Linked DNA regions of Homo sapiens: region 2 is linked to region 1. Evidence: promoter capture Hi-C in human tissues and cell types (Jung and others, 2019). All regions are on one chromosome and are shown on one strand. The core of a region is centred on a gene start or on the middle of the fragment in contact, and the rest is flanking DNA. Distances in the headings are between cores, read along the strand shown. Region 1 holds the start of EPN3 (epsin 3). Region 2 has its middle 9.4 kb from the start of XYLT2.

Region 1 (5,028 bases), core at 278-2,777:
CAGGGGCTGGGGGGAAGGGCGGGGCCAGAAACATGGGGAGGCACCTTGATTTTCCTTCTCTGGAGTTTGAGGGGACAAGGTGAGGCTGCCCAAGCACAGAGAAGGGAGGAGGAAAGGAAGAAGCCTGCCCAAGCGCAGAGAAGGGAGGAGGAAAGGAAGAAGCCTGCCCAAGCGCAGAGAAGGGAGGAGGAAAGGAAGGAACGCGGGAACGCGGGAGGGAGCAGCTGGGAGCGCTGCCAGCAGTGTTACAAGCAAAGGGTTTTATCGAACACGATATGCCCAGAAATAAAAGGGAGTGTAACAGAAACCCAGCGGCCGATAAGGCGGTGGCGGTAGCAGCAGCAGCCCTGGGCAGCTGGGTATGGAATTACTGCAGTGACCTTGAGCCAGACCCTGTCAGGTGGAGGGAAGGGCACAGAGAGGGCAGGGCCTGAGAATTCAGAGATGACGAGAGGGCAGAGGAGGGAGGAAGCTGAGGGGATGGGAGCAGGGCCAGCAGGCGGTGGGATGGGCCACGGGGCACGGAGTATCAGCTCTCTCCTGCATACAGGGTCCCAAGGAGAACTGCGCAGTAGGGAGGGGCTGCTCTTCTCAGGGCCTGCAGGATGGGGGGATCTGGAGAGTTTCCCAAAAGTCAGGACCGAAAAATGCAGATCGCTCATCCCCAGCAAGGGTTTCGGAGAGATGGAGAGAACCCAGATCTGTCCAGTCACACGTGCATGAGTTTGCGTAAAGTCTGTGCACCCACCAGCCCAGCCCACACCCTCTTCCCGTCCTCTGCTAAGGTGGGCTCCAGCCCCTGCCTCCAAGTCAGATCCAGCCTGAGCAGTGGGGAATGACAGTGCCCTTCTTGATGCTGTAAGGGACAGGGGGTGAGCTTGAACTCTAAGCTTCTGGCCACTGTAATAGCTGCATCCCGGGAGCACAGAAGATGGGGGAGGGGGGACTGCCCTGAGGCTAGAGGTGTGCATGAGGGGCTGAAGAAGAGGAAACAGCAGAGATGTGCAGAAGGAGTCTGTGGGGAATGCCACCAAAGATGCTAAGATGCCACCAAAGATGCTAAGTCCCAGGATGGTTGGGGAGGGGGCCCTGAGTCCCTTTTTGGGGGCGGCAGGGAGGGAGGGGTGGCAGGAAAGAAGCCTTTAGGTCCTCTACAGCTCAGCCTTCTCCCTCGCACCTGGAAAAGAGACTAAGCCCCAGAACCACTGTTTGCTCCCCACCAACCCCCGCCTTCCATGCCGCCACTGCCAGGGAGGGGGCCAGGGAGGAAGCTTACCTCCAGTGCGGGCTCCCTCGGCCCCAGCCCCAGCCCGAGTAGCCTCTGCGGTGACCCTCCGACCTGTGCAGCAGCGGGACGGCACAGCCTCGGGAGCGTCTCCAGAGCCATCCACCATGGACCCTCGTCCCAGAGACCCACCTGCTCCCAGGAGGTGCAGACCCCTCAGAGGGGCAGCGGCAGGGTCCCTGGAATGGGTAGCAGCTCTTCCCGCGTGCGTTTGCCTCCTAGCCAGCGCCAGGCAGCACTCCGAGGAAAGTTGCTCAGCTGGCCCGGCAGGTCTGCCTCAGCAGTAACAGGACACAGGAGGAAGTGCAGGGCAGGTTAACCCCTTCCTGCTGGCCAGGCAAGTGGTGCATTGAGAGGTGGGGGGCCTGCCTGTTGGCCGCCCCCAGGAAGTGCACATCTGGAGCCAGTGCTGGCGACCTGATCCCCTCTGCTTTGAGTTAACCCTTCCCCTGCCTCTTCAACAGGAAAGGAGGGGGGCTCCAACACCCCCACCACACCCCTCCCCTTCCTCCTCTGGGCCGGGAGGACATTAAAGGAGAGGGCAGGGACATTCCCTGGGGCTGGCTCTTTGGTGGAGCCCCCGTCTTCTCGTCTTCTTGGGGAGGAGAGCATCAGGACTCCAGCACAGCCCCCTCCCTGCCTTTCCCACACGGAGTCAGATCCTTCTGTCCATCCTCCCCCTCCTGCATCTCAGCTGGAGGATGCCTGAGGCCCACTTAAGGATGCCCACCCACCCAAAAACCAAAGTTGTTCTTCAAACTCTGGGAGCCTGGAGTGCTCTTCACACAGGGAGCCCAGCCCCAAATGGTTATGACTGACAGAAGACAATGAGGGGCCTGAGTTTGAGCTGACAATACCTTTTTTTCTGAGAGCCATTTCTAGCCTGTTTCATGTTCCCCTGAGCAAGGGAGGTAGCATGAAGATCAGCAGCTGTTTTTAAGGCAGAAAGATGGCTCAAGGCCAGATAGTTTGAGATGAGGAGGGGGATAAGGCAGACTAGACCCCGAAATAACAAGGTGATGTGGCCTCTAGAGCTGAAGAGGTGTGGTGAGCATGATCTTCAGGGACTGAATTGGGGCCCTGGGACCCAGCTGAAGAGGGGAGATGGCAGGGAGCCAGGTCCCATGGGTCTAGTTCTACTCCTCATCTCACACTTTGTCATACTTGGTGATGACACTTCGGGAAGACCTGGCTCCAGGAAGCACGACCCTGAAAGTGTGGGCCAAGGAAGCCAGAGGCAGGGACTACCAGAGGTGACACACTGTCCTGTCACCTGACTCCTTGTCTTGCTACCAATCTGCTCCTCTGCTTGGCATCCCACACATCACTTCCCCAGCTATGTCTGTCTGTCCTCCTGCAGGAGGGCTCTGGCAGCTGGCAGGAGGGGATCTGAGGGCAGGTGGAACATGGGAGGACCTGGATCAGGAGCTGACCTAGCCAAGATCCATCATGCAAGACACAGAGGCACACGGAAGTAGTAGAAACTTGAAGGTTCTTTATTGATTTATTTATTAACCCGTTTTCCAGAAGGTTGCTTGGGCCCGAGAGTCACCTGCAGAGGCGCAAAGCCTCCTCGACATTCTTTATGGGGCTGAGCTCATCAGCCAGGACCATCAGGTCAGTCACCAGGGTGTCCAGCAGCCCACGGACCTGGAAGAACGGGACAACATCACAGGCAGAGTTTACTCTGTGGGAAGCACCTATATATGAACTATGCTGTGAGAGAATAGCTGGAGAGGGGAAAGAAACCAGTTGTTTGTGAAAGAATTTCACAAGTTCAAAGTTCTTGTGAAATAATTTTTGGTTTTGCAGATTTTTTTTTTTTTTGACAGGATCTCACTCTGTCACCCAGGCTGGAGTCCAGTGGTGTGATCATGGCTCACTGCAGCCTTGACTTCCCTGGCTCAGGTGATTCTCCCATCTCAGCCTCCCAAGTAGCTGGGACTACAGGCGTGCACCACCAGACCTGGCTACTTTTTTCTATTTTTTGTAGAGATGGGGTTTCACCACATTGCCCAGGCTAGTCTCGAACTCCTGGGCTCAAGCAATCCACCTGCTTTTGCAGTTTTACTTTTCAAACCAGTCTGGGGAGGTGGCCCTGCGCTGGTACCTTTGACATATGGAGATACTAGAGCTAAGTTGTTCAAGGGGCAACTCCAGGGAGCCCATGGAGCGGTGCCCATTTAGCCGTTTGGGGTGGGCCTGGGCTCAGCCCCAGTTCTACTCTGGCCTCCTGGAGGCCAATTTTCCTTCCTGTATCCACAGACTGAAAGGTCTCTGGGACTGACCCCTCCAATGGGGTTGGATCATACAAGCCCAGACAAGTTGATTCTTTTTTTTTTCTGCAGAGATGGGGTCTCCCTGTGTTGTCTAGGCTGATGTCGAACTCCTGGGCTCAAGCAATCCACCTGCCTCAGCCTTCCAACGTGCTAGGATTACAGGTGTGAGCCACTGGCCAGCAAGTTGATTCTTTTTTTTTGGAGGTAAGAGTCTCACTCTTGTCACCCAAGCTGGAGTGAAATGGCGTGATCTCGGCTCACTGCAACCTCCACTTCCCGGGTTCAAGCGATTATTGTGCCTCAGCCACCCAAGTAGCTGGGACTACAGGTGAGTGTCACCATGCCTGGCTAATTTTTTGAATTTTTAGTAGAAACGGGATCTTACCATGTTGCCCAGGCTGGTCTTGAACTCCTGAGCTCAGGCAATCTGCCCACCTTGGCCTCCCAAAGTGCTGGGATTACAGGCACGAGCCACCGCACCTGGTCTGCAAGTTGATTCTTAATATCAAAGAGCCATGGAAGGGTTGACGTTGACCCCCATGGGTCCTCAGAGCCCTTTAATTACTTTCTAGACCCCATCAACCATCTGATATCTTAGTGATGTCACCAGTGGCAAATGGAACTTTTGATCAAATGAGATCCAGAGTGTGACCACAATACATGATGTAATCCCAGCTCCCCAGCTATCCACATTAGAGGAAGGCAAGACGTCGCCAATAGACATACTGACATATTGAAAATGGCTTTGTGGACCTCCCCTCCAAAACAAACAACAACACTAACAAACAAAACGGAAAACCTGGGTGAATTTCTAAGGACCTGCTACTTAAGAACGGATTAGGATGAAGTCTCTCTAGTCCTTCAAACTCTTACAGTTGATGGGAATGCACCCTGCATGGTGTTCTCCCAAGGAACGCATCTGCCAGGATGCACCTAACGGGGAGTAAGAAAGAGAAGGGCTTCCTTCCTCTCTGTTCCCCTAGAGTCTGTTCTCCAAAGGGCGGCCAGAGCCACCTTCTAAAGCCTATCAGACCCTATTGCGTTTCTATTCAAAACCTTGCGTGACTTCTCATTTCACTCCGAAAAATCCCAAGTCTTCACAATAGCCTGCAAACCATCCCCCACCCCTATGACCTGCTCCCCACTACTGCCCTCTCCCTTCTGGCCCCTCCCTCCTATGGCAGTTGCTCCCCATGCCTGGAGCACTCTTTACTGGACGTCTACTTGGCCACCCTTCCCCTCCCTTCAAATCTTTGTGGGTTGTCACCTCCTCACTGAGGCCTCTGTGCCTCCATTCCCTGCCTGGTCTATCTTCTCTCCCGTCGTACTCATCACCTAACATGCTAGGCGCATTCCTTATTCATGAGGCCTGTCTCACACACGAGGATGCCCTTCCTGAAGCAGCTCTGCTTCCACCATGATGGAGTGGGCACTTATTGTCTGCAGACTGAACGGAATGAATAA
Region 2 (4,789 bases), core at 951-3,450, 200 kb after region 1:
GGACTCATATGACAAAGACTTGAAAATAAGGATGGCTCAAAGAAGTAAATGAAGAAATCATCTGACAAACAAGAAATTATGAAACAAATGTAGATGAAAATGAAATGAAGATATACATATGAAATATAAATAATTATACATCTCAGAAATAAAAATGTAGAAAAGCAATAAAAATATCTCAAAAGATAGGGTGAACTTTAGACTGGATATAGTTGAAGATAAAATTAGTGAATTGGAAGATAGCTCTAAAGAATTGACAGTGAATGCAGCAAAAAGAGGTACTTTGATTAAAAATAAGAACAGTTTGAAGAGTAGGAGAATAGATTGAGAGACTCAAACTATGTATAACAGGATTTCCAGAGTAAGAAAATAAGGAAAATGGCAAGGAAATAATATTGAAGCTATGATAGCTGAGATTATTTCAGAATTCAAGGAAAATATTAGTAACATACAAGAGGATTTTGATTTTTAAAACTCAATCTGATACTCTAAGTTTTACTGTTTCTTTAATCAGTTTACATTTAGTGCCATTAATGGATTATTTGGATTTTCTTTGATTATGATTATTCCACATTTTCTGCTCACTGCCTTCTTTCTCCACTTTTTTTCCCTTTACTATATTCTGTTGGATTGGTAAAATCTTCTATTCTCCTTTTTCTCTTCCAGCAGTACCAGGGTTGGTACAGCTTTTATCAACTTACTTAATGGCTTTCCTTAATATTTTCTGTGCTATTCACTCCATTGGTGAGGGAGGGATTCCCATCCTAGGTTTACAGAGATGGCCAAACACACGACATTTGATTCTGGGCAGATGAGATTGACAGTAGTGTATTAGTCACATATACTCATAGCCCAGGGCAGGATATCACACACCATGCAGGGCCACACAGGGGTTGCGCTCAGAGACAGTGAGCAACTAAGGGCTGTGGGAGGCAGGCTTTGTAGTATCAAGAGGATGAGATGTCCCCTAGTTTCAGCAGGAAGATGTGACTGGCTTATGTGGATAATTATGCAGGCTGCAGGCTGGCAGGAAACTGAAACCCACTACTCAGGAATAAGCAGGAAGTGCTCCTGGTCCCCTTGATAAGGGGGGTTATTTGGCTGGGGGACCTTATCCAAGGGAGCAGAGTGAGGAGGTGAACTTGTGGCTAGGCCAGTCAAAGCCTCCCAATTTCACCGCATATAAAGTCAGTATCAGCATTTAATACTGCGCCTGAGTTTTAGGCCTTAAACGCATTTTGCTGTTAATTTTCCTTTCAGGGCTATATAGACTGTTCGTCTGCTATAATCTTCCTTAATAATTTAGAAAGCAAGAATTAGAATTCTTTAAAAAAATTTTTTTTTCTTTTTTTAGACAAGGAGCATCTTACTATATTGCCCAGGCTGGCCTTGAATTCCTGGACTCAGGTGATCCTCCCTCTTCAGCCACCCAAGTAGCTGGGACTACAGGTGTGCACCACTGTGCTAGCTCTAGAATTCTTTTTAAAATTCTACTTGTGTTTACTTACAACTTTTCAGATAATTTTAATGTGACATTGTTCCTCAGTGGGTAGGCCTGTGCAAACCTGTCGCCAAAGTCCAAGGAAACTGAGAGACTGAAGAAAAAGGCTGACAAATTCAGTTTCTTAGAAATAAACAATAGGAAATTAGAAACAGAAGCCAGGTCTGTGTCTTGTGCAGTGGCTGGCAGGGAGACAAGATGTTACCCCCTAAGACCCAGGGCTTATCTACCACAGGGAAGGGGTATATGTGATCCAGAAGGCAGGTGAAGGACAATTGAAGTATGATAACATCAAAGTTGTTTTGACCTAAGGGAGGTAAGTACCTGTTCTTACACAGGTAACAATAGATAGACTGGAAAGCTTAGAGGAATTCCCAGAATTGGGGCTAATCAGAAGTCATCATGGCGGCTTAGCCTCCAATATGGAGTTGCTTTAGCCTTCACAGATATTCAATGATCACAGTCCTCATAGAACTATAATTTTTATTTCCCATTGTAGAAAATTAGTTTCTCCCTATTCATCCCCACTTCTTTTCTCTCTCTACTATGTGAACAAGGATCATTCTCACTTGTTAAAAGTTCATCTGGGGTTATGAACTTTGTCATTTTGGTTTATAATGTAGCTAATTTCTTTTAAGGGAATAATCTCTCTTTTTTTTAATCTTCAGTTTTGAGACTATTTAAAAATATTTAGAGTAATGCATATATATTAACTTGTTCAATGCCCTTTGCCAAGTAGATAATTTAAAAAATTACTTCCTGAGGCAGGCAGATAGCTTGAGCCCAGGAGTTTGAGACCAGCCTGAGCAACATGGCAAAACCCCATCTGTATTAAAAATACCAAAATTAGCCAGATGTGGGACTACCGTCGGTAGTCCCAGCTACTCAGGAGGCTGAGGTGGGAGGATTGCTTGAGCTCAGGGGAGTGAGGCTGCAGTGAACCATGATCACACCACTGCACTCCAGCCTGGGTGACAGAGCAAGGCCCTGTCTCAAAAGAAATAGTTCAAAAATTTCAAAAATAAGGCAACGAATTAATTAAAAACTGTTTCAGAACAGCCAATGATCTCCCTTTCTTTCCCCTCTGCTCTCTACTTAGAATTAACCAGCCTGGCCCGTTTGCTTTGTTGCTTCCACATTCTTCTCTCTGCTCATATAAATATATGCAGATGTCAACCCTTTGGTAGGTTTCCACTCCATGTTTTACAGAAGTAAGATGATACAGAAATTACCCAACACTGTGTTTTTAAATAAATCATCATTTTATCATGGATACCCCTCCAGGTTAATACATAATAGCTACATAATGTTTATTACTTTAGTATAGATACACCATAATTTATTAAGCCATTCACCTGTTATTGGGCATTGAGGTCATTGCTAGTTATTTTGCCCCTACACATATGGCTTCAAGAAGCATCTTAGTTCATATCACCTGATATACTGGTGTCTTTATTTTTGTATGATAGATTTCCAAGAGTGAGATGGGTATGTACATTTCTCTTTTAAAAGATATTGCCAGAACATTGCAAAAAGGTGCTAGCAATCTGTAGTCTTGAGAAGACATGAAAACTCTCCTTCCCCTAAACCTCTAAGCAGGTGCTTCAAGCTAGATATTTTTCTCATTCTTGAGTATTTACATCTGATTTTTTCTCTACTGTCCTGGCATACATCTTCAAGTGATTTATTAAAGAAGAGTATTCAGGAGGGATTCTTTTAAAAATAACTTCCACACCTGAGGTCTTTTTGTTGCCTTCATACATGAATGACAACATGGCCTATCCTTTAGGTTTTTCTAGATCAGTGTAGTTCAAACTACAGGTCACAACCCACTCAATTTAAAGGATTATGGCTACATTTTAAAAAACATAGAATGGGGGTGGGACATGGTGACTTACACCTATAATCCTAGCACTTTGGGAGGCCAAGGCAGACGGATTGCTTGAGCTTAGGATTTTGAGACCAGCCTGGTTGTCTCTACTAAAAAAAAAAAAAAAAAAAAAAAAAATTGGCCAGGTGTGGTGGTGCATGCCTGTAGTCCCAGCTACTCAGGAGGCTGAGCAGGGAGGATTGCTTGAGTCTGGGAGGTGGAGGCTGCAGTGAGCCATGGTTGTGTCACTGCATTCCAGCCTGAACGACAGAGTAAGACCCTGTCTCAATGAAAAATAAAAAAAAATAAGTTAGTCGAGCATGGTGATGTGCACCTGTAGTCCCAGCTACTTGGGAGGCTAAGGTGGGAGAATCACTTGAGCCCAAGGGTTTGAGGCTGCTGTGAGCTATGATCATGCCACTGCACTCCAGCCTGGGTGACAGAGCAAGACCCTGTCTCAGAAAAACAAGAAAAACAAAGCTCCACACAGTGGCTCACGCCTGTAATCCCAGCACGCCTGGTCTAAAAGTACAATGTATTTCTAATGATGACTTGAGATAAAAAGAAATTGACATTTTCTTCTTTTGCATGCTGTAGTCTTGAGAAGACAGTGATTTATTCAAGAAGACTATTCAGGAGGGATAGCTCACAGCAGCCTCGAACTCTTGGGCTCAAGGGAAGTCTGAGATCATTTTAATTTAAGCTCTCTGTTATTTTTTCCCATTTGTTTGTAAGATCCTTATTTATCACTGCCCCTTCCTGCATTTAAATTTGTTTTAAAAACTTTTTAAAAAAAATATGACCAGGCGCGGTGGCTCATACCTGTAATCCCAGCACTTTGGGAGGCTGAGGCGGGTGGATCACAAGGTCAAGAGATCAAGACCATCCTGGCCAACATGGTGAAATCCTGTCTCTACTAAAAATACAAAAATTAGCGGGGCATGGTGGCGCATGCCTGTAATCCCAGCTACTCAGGAGGCTGAGGCAGGAGAATCGCTTGAACCTGGGAGGCGGAGGTTGCAGTGAGCCGAGATCATGCCAGTGCACTCCAGCCTGGGCAAGAGAGCGAGACTCCGTCTCAAAAAAAAAAAAAAAAAAAAAATCCAAGAGAACTAAAGATAGAAAAGTAAAATCTCTGGCCAACCATGGTGGCTCATGCCTGTAATCCCAGCACTTTACGGGCAGGTCACTTGAGCCAAGAGTCCAAGGCCAGCCTGGGCAACATGGCAAACTCCTTTCTCTACAAAAAAATACAAAAGTTAGCTGTGTGTTGTGGCACATGACTGTAATCCCAGCTACTGGGGAGGCATGAGAATCACTTTAACCTGGGAGGCAGAGGTTGCAGTGAGCCGAGATCGCAACTTTGCACACCAGCCTGGGCAACAGAGCAAGACCCTGTCTCAAAAAAAAAAAAAAGA

Evidence for each region. Contacts are between HindIII fragments. The study calls those that stand out against the background at their distance.
Region 2: a contact is called between a fragment that was not itself captured here and the fragment with the promoter of EPN3 in region 1, in 6 of the 25 tissues and cell types used here (aorta, bladder, dorsolateral prefrontal cortex and 3 more).

The regions. Positions count from the first base shown.
Region 1 is chr17:50,529,234-50,534,261 of GRCh38, reverse strand. EPN3 (epsin 3) reads right to left here and starts at 1,527. Exons shown (of 10, transcript NM_017957.3): 1 at 1,277-1,527. It overlaps MYCBPAP (MYCBP associated protein), which reads right to left. Exons shown (of 19, transcript NM_032133.6): 19 at 2,761-2,935. The coding sequence ends at 2,834. RefSeq lists an enhancer at 1-661. The HindIII fragment of the contact is 9,890 bases long and covers 1,082-5,028 here.
Region 2 is chr17:50,334,307-50,339,095 of GRCh38, reverse strand. No RefSeq gene overlaps it. Among named protein-coding and RNA genes, the nearest start is that of XYLT2, 9.4 kb to the left of the region's middle. The HindIII fragment of the contact is 7,744 bases long and covers 1-4,789 here.